Regions from separate parts of the Homo sapiens genome. Here region 2 is linked to region 1. Evidence: promoter capture Hi-C in human tissues and cell types (Jung and others, 2019). All regions are on one chromosome and are shown on one strand. Each heading gives the region's core, a stretch centred on a gene start or on the middle of the fragment in contact. The rest is flanking DNA. Distances are from core to core; before and after follow the strand shown.

Region 1 (3,159 bases), core at 367-2,866:
GAGGAAACTGTCTATGTTGCTCAATGTTCTTTATGTAAAAACGAAGGTGACACCTCGAAAAAACAAACAAACAAAAACAAACAAAAAAAGTAGGTGACAAATTCCCCTGGAAACTAGGGGGAAATAACCTCTTTCTCCTGATCAAGAGGTACACTTTCTATTACAGAAGAACGAATATTAAAGAGCTCTTCCTGTTCTCCTTTTGTGTTTGGCTACTAGGAGAGCAGACCTAAATTCTTTGCCCCATTCCGGCAAATTTCCTCCGTTAAGAACTTTGGGCAAAACTGTTTGTCTACCCCATTCTTGCTTGTCTTTTTATTTTTATGTTAATGATTTTCAGGTGAGTTTTTTACTACAGGCTGCTGAACTATACTGCAGATAAGTAGGCTTATGAATGTGGGTGTTAAAAAAAATACAGAGTTGTTCAACATGGATGTTTTCCTAGATTAAGTTTTGATGTTTATACAACCGACTTGAAGAACACAAAAAGTTTATCTGAAATCCATTCATCAAGGCTAAGTTCTCCATACTGTTTTGTAACTTATTTTAAAATGATGGATATCATGTATGTGATACATAATGGATGATGAATATTATTTGGACAAAACTCATTATGAGTAAAGAAACAAAATTACATGTCTCTACATTCGAGTGGGTGGGTTACAAAATTACAAGCAGCAATCCCTGCAACAGGATTCCAGTGTTCTAGGCTTCTACCCCATTCTAACTATGAGGAAAATGAAATTTCATTCCATTACCATTTACTGGGACTCTGCTTTGAGAAGAGCACTAAAATAATTTGGCTCCCAAATGACCTCCAATATCGAACTTGGTGTGCTGCCGTGTAATAATCTTCCCAAGAGCATCAGCTTCCTTCTAAGTGTTAGACCCTGCCCCATTTTGTCTTTTATTTGACGAGGTTGGCTCTTTTCTTGGTGTTTCCCCTTAAGTTTACAACTTGCAGATTTCTCCCCTTCTATCAAGTTTTGATTTCTCTTTGCCCCATCTAAGACTGACATTCCAAAATCAGAACTCTGCACTTTTATTCGTCTGCTGTCCCTGCCTCCCCCATAGCCACAGATTCACTGTAACAGAACTCTGCTCTACTTTCTCGAGCACATCGGTCTTCCGGCCATAAGGTATCAGGTCCTTCCTTTCCTTCGGCTCTTATGGTGCCGTACCCGATCGGTCTGGTCTCCCAGCGTTGGGTACGTTAGAGATTTAAGTCTTTTCCCCAACTCCAGGTAGCTCCACAGATCCGCCTTCCTTCCCCCAAACCCCCGAGACCCCATCTCCACAACTTCGGCCTCAGTCCCCAGATCCACCCACTTCCAGGGCGTCAACGTCTCCTCCCCCTCACCGGGTCCTCAAGTCCTGAGTCTGACGCCCCCCGCCTCCACCCCAACCCTGGGCTGCACTGCTCCGCCGCGTCCGCACGCACCCACTCGTTGGCCCGATGGCCGAAGGTGTACAGAGCCACCTGGCTGGCCACGTCCACGATGCGGTTGATATAGGGGTCGTGGCGCTGCAGGGCCGCTAGGCTGATGTCGCGCCCCTTTCCCACCAGGCCGCCTGCCGCCACGGCTGCCATCTTCCCTCCCTCCCAGACATAGGCACGGGGCTCTTGGAAGCCACTCTCAATAGATCGCAGAACGAGCGAGCTGCCTCGCAACCGAGAACCCACGGCGACCACACGGCCCGGGAGGCCTTCCGGCTCCAGTCACCCCCACCCTCCTGCCCGCCGACAGACGCAAGGCCTCACTAATCGATGGCCGCGCCCCGCCCACTGAGGATCGTTGCCACTGGCAACGACAAGCCCAGGCCTGCCCTCTGCATCCCGTTTCTTTCTCCAAGAGCTGTTTTTCTACGCGCTCGAGCCTTTGAGCTGTGTGTGCGGTAGGATTTCCTTCTTGGATGTGTTCGACCCCTTGGCATATCTTTTCTTTGGCGCTTCAGTGATCAAATCTATCACAATAAATAAGCCTCGAGCATCAAGAACTCTGAAGAGAAAGAGAACTGAATTGATTTCTGAATGCGCTAACACCCAGTGGTTCTCAAAGTGTGGTGTGGTCCTGGAACCCTTTGGGAGTTTCTGAGACCCTTTCAGGGGATCTGCAAGGTCAAAAAAAAAACAAAACCTTTTATGACAATGCTGAGACTTACTTATTTGACTTGTTCACTGTGGTGACGTTTTGCAGACAATGGTGGTTAAAAGCGCCGGTGGTTTAACCCAATCAAGGCAGGGGCACCAAACTGTATTGCTAGTCAAAGTACGCGTCACTAATCTGCACTCTCAGTTACAAAAGAAAAAAAAAAAAAGAAGAAGGTAGAGAGCCAGTGTCACCTGATGGTGTTCTTGATAAGCAGTAAGAATTATTAATTTCATTGAAGCTTAATCCTTGGGTACAATTCTTTTTAACATTCTGCATGAAAAAATAGGAAATAGGCATAAAGCACGTCTGCTGCAAAATGAAGTGTGTCATATTTGTCTCTAGGAAAATACTTCTGTGCTTGAGTTGTAGGCCGAATTCATGTTTTTATTTTTATTTTCATAAAACATTTTTACTTGAAAGAAAGATGGGCAAACTATGATTATTCAAACAGGTACTTGACAGACATTTTTCTGAAAATAAATAAAGTGTGCCTGTCACTTTCAGGAAAACAAGGGACAATTACTGCTGCCAATGATAATTTTTAAGCCTTCAAGCCAGAATTAAAAGTTTAGAAAATGTGTATCTACTGCCATGAGCTTGACATCTCAGTACTTAATGTTTTTTTTTCTGATGAGATCAGTGATGATATTAATGAGCGCAATTTTAACAAATCTTGTATAATGGAAAGTGTCAATATCTCAAAGATCTGCTTAACTCAGTGGTCCAGTATTTTCCAAAAGACCAATGTCTCATGCTACATAATCATGCACAGGCAAAAGATCCATTCAAGGACAAGGTGGACTAATGGATTTTTAATGTAACAGTATGAAAAGTTAATAGGATTTCAGATAGTACATTGCAGCTAAGCTTTGAGAAACTCCAGCTTGTCAAGTTTTGGTATATTATCCAAGAAGAATATCCACAATTGTCTGAAAAACTCTATTAAAATATCCATCTCTTTTCCAACTACATTATCTACATATGAGGCCAGAGTTTCTTCATATAC
Region 2 (3,300 bases), core at 762-3,261, 350 kb after region 1:
TCTGTCCCCACCAGCTCCAAGGGGCTGTGCACTTGGTAGGCTGTTGGAGTATCACACCAGATTCCAGAAGAGGGGCCAGGAGCGGGAGGATTATGCCCTGGGGCCATTCTCACCGGACTGTTGGAAACAGTCTTTGGTACCTGCTGAGAGAGCCAGTGCCAGCTGGGAAATCTGTGAGGTCTCCCTGAGGAAGCTTGTCCTAGAAACTGCAGTGAGGTGACTGTGCGGCAGGCCCACTCTCAACTCGAGGGGAGCCCCTCCTGCCTGCTGCAGGAGTGGGAGCGTGGGGCTAGCTGCCAGTGGGATGGCCCCAGCCGGAGGAGCTGGGCAGTGCAGCGAGGCGCCAGCTGTGCCTGACTCCTGAGGCCTTCTGCTCACCGGAAGGGGGGCAGGTCTGCAGCCCCTCCCCCACTGCAGGGCCAGGACAGGCCGTCCTGAGTGCTGGCCCTGAGGATCTAGACCCTTTGGATCCTATGTGCGGGGGACTTCCCAAGAGCTCCCGGCCCACGACTGAGTCACGCGGCTTCTTAGCAACTTAGTCAATCCAAACGTGGAGGTGATTGGCATATGTAAGAACCCCCTTTCCCGTTGGCGTGTATGGTGTCTTCTCGCTGAGCCACAGCACCTGGTTTAGGGCTACAAATAGTCTCCCCGAGGGAATGGGCTCATACGCCGGGTGGGCAAGGATTTCAAGTCGTCGGCACAAGAAGAGACACTATATTAAGGCCTGGTTATGTTTAGAAGCCGTCCAGAGAATGTTTGGCATGCTGAATATAAACTCATGCTTCCGTCTGCTGCCACACTTTAAGATTTCTCCCAGAGGGACCCAGAGTGTGGGGCGCCCTGGAGAAGGAGCTGGGAATGTCTCGGGGGAAAGGTTCCTTCCTCGGGAACTGGGTGGCATGGGAGAGTAGCTTCAAGCTTGCTCATGGCTGGACTTCCCAGACACAGGGTGGGGCTGTTGGATGTTACCCGTCATGTCAGCATTCAGAGCCCGGCAGGAAAAAGCCTCCTTCAAAGTGAACCCAATTCCTAAAGTCCTCCTTAATGGAATTCCTCTTAGAGGCAGGCATCGACTGGCTAACTGGTATGATACTTTGGAGTTCAGTTAGCCCAGAATGGTGAAGAAAATGGCTGTCACCCAAAACACACTGAATTGAAGGACGGTGGTGCCAGAAAAGACTGTGGGTTATCTTATCCAGCCCCTTCATCTATAACATGGGGAAACTGAGGCCTAATAGAGGATGGTGACCTGCTCTACTGATGGCATTCAGCACTACACCAAGGTCACGGGAGGGGTCTGCTCTAATAGCATGTTCCCATGGACTGGAAAACGTCAGAAGGGTAGAATACAATACAAACACCGTTAGGACTGAGATGTGGCCAGCATGAAGTCCCATGGTCCTGTGTGAGTGGAACCTTGGTGTGGAAAGTGGCCCCTGGCAGCGTTGGGACATAGAGCAGTTTGGGTGGGGTTCTAACTGGGTATGGAATTTCAACAGACTCGCAGGGAGATTCTCTAGTACTGTCTCAATTGGAATCATCGTTTTTTTTAAAGTTAAGAAGAAAAATGGAAGGGCTCAGGTGAAATAAACATTTTACAAGCAGATGCTTGCCTCTGCCAGCCTGGGGGCATTTTGAGTAGGGGCGCAGCATGCAAAGCAGAGAAGAGCTCCCACGTCTGCCCCCTGCCCTCCTCCCCTCTGGAATTTTAGCCCCTGCTTGGCATTGCCATGGGTGTGAAAGGTGGTGTCTGGACTCAGGAGGAAGGTACTGCAGAGGGTAGGAAGAGCTCTGCAGTGGTCCCACGGATCTGGCTTTAAACCAGGAGCTCTTGCGAGTCTGGAGCTACGTGAGTTCTCTGAGCCTCTGTTTCTTCATCTGCAGAATGGGGATAGGATGGTTGTATGGGAGGAACGCACCTTGCACAGTGTCTGGCACACAGCACCCTCCGAAAGGGGCTCTCCATGTACTAGGTGCTCAGGAAAGATTGCAATCTGACTAGGAGTTTTGAAATTTGTGATTTACTTAGTCTTGGGGAGGAAAGAAGAGTCGTTTTCCATGGATCAGTATGTGTAGATGTGGTTGCAGAGACAGTCAGAGAAAGAAATGGAGCCAGGACAAAGGGGTGGCCCCAGCATTCACGAAAGGTTTCAGAATTCCTTTTTGGGTTTTTGGCTATGACACCCCTCTTAGGAGTCATGTTTGTTCACTGTCTAGTGAGAAGGTGATCTTCTAGTAACCTCCTTTTGGGGGGCCTATAAGGAATTCCTTCTTGCTGTTCGTGCCTTCTCTCACAACACTAGTGTGAGACCAGAGACCCCACCTCACCTCCATCAGGTGAAGATCCAAAGCAGAGAGGAGTCCCTGACTGGACCTTCCCCAGGGGTGGGTTGTGATGAGATGAGTGATTATCAACACTGAGTGAGGGGTGGTCATGGGCCAGATGCTGCTGAAGCCTTTACTTCCTAGCAGCCTTGTTAGGTAGGAGACTGTGACTCTCCCATTTTACAGATGAGGAAGTTGAGGTAGTAAACAGTCATATAACTTGCCCAAGCACACACAAATAGTGATGTTGCTTTGATTTCAGCCAGACAGTCTGGCTCCAGAATCTGTCTCTTTCATCTCTAAGCCTTTTAAGTAGCAGAAAGAGAAAGATCAAGGGGGCAATGGGGCCTGAATGTGTCCACAATGATGGCAAACAGAAGAGGAAGTGTGCTGGGCTGCGGGGCCATTGATGCCCATGAACTGAAGAGCCCGAATGCCTGGATGATGAATGGCTGGTCACCCCCTCATATGGGCAGCAGAGGCTGTCTTCAGGCTCGGCGGCTCAGCTGCCATTGGCCTGAATGGAGTCCTCTTTTTTCCAAGCCCTTTCCCCTGGACAATTGCTGAGCTCTGCCCCCTTTCGCAGGCACCTCCCCATGTCGCAGGACACCAGAGTCTTCAGGTTGGAAGGACCCTGGAGGTCACCCTGTTTATTCTTCCACCTGACTCAGGAGTCCTTTGTAGCCTTCTTGGCAGGACCTGTCGAATCAAGCAAGGATGATGGAGAAGCCCTTGGATGTCCATCTAGTTGATAGAAAGTTCTTGTTCATAAACTCAAGCCGAAGGCTGCCCTGGAGCAGCTCCAGCCACTGGCCCTAGCCAGGCCCTCTGGTCTGTTCCCTCGGGCCCCTTCTGAAGGCAATTTCTGAGTGAACTGTTTCAGATACTCTAATGGAAGTTTCTTGGCCTTGGCCCTATTGACATTTGGGGATGGATAATTCTTTCTTGTCTGGGGCTGGCCTGTGCATGGTA

Evidence for each region. Contacts are between HindIII fragments. The study calls those that stand out against the background at their distance.
Region 2: a fragment that was not itself captured here is called in contact with the fragment with the promoter of DCP1B in region 1 in 1 of the 25 tissues and cell types used here (aorta).

The regions. Positions count from the first base shown.
Region 1 is chr12:2,002,841-2,005,999 of GRCh38, forward strand. DCP1B (decapping mRNA 1B) reads right to left here and starts at 1,617. Exons shown (of 9, transcript NM_152640.5): 1 at 1,442-1,617. The coding sequence starts at 1,591. It also overlaps a transcript of CACNA1C not described here. RefSeq lists enhancers at 699-1,338, 1,663-1,892. The HindIII fragment of the contact is 10,654 bases long and covers 1-2,705 here.
Region 2 is chr12:2,347,866-2,351,165 of GRCh38, forward strand. The region is part of intron 3 of CACNA1C (calcium voltage-gated channel subunit alpha1 C); the gene reads left to right. Among named protein-coding and RNA genes, the nearest start is that of CACNA1C-IT3, 80 kb to the left of the region's middle. RefSeq lists an enhancer at 1-315. The HindIII fragment of the contact is 4,220 bases long and covers 1-3,300 here.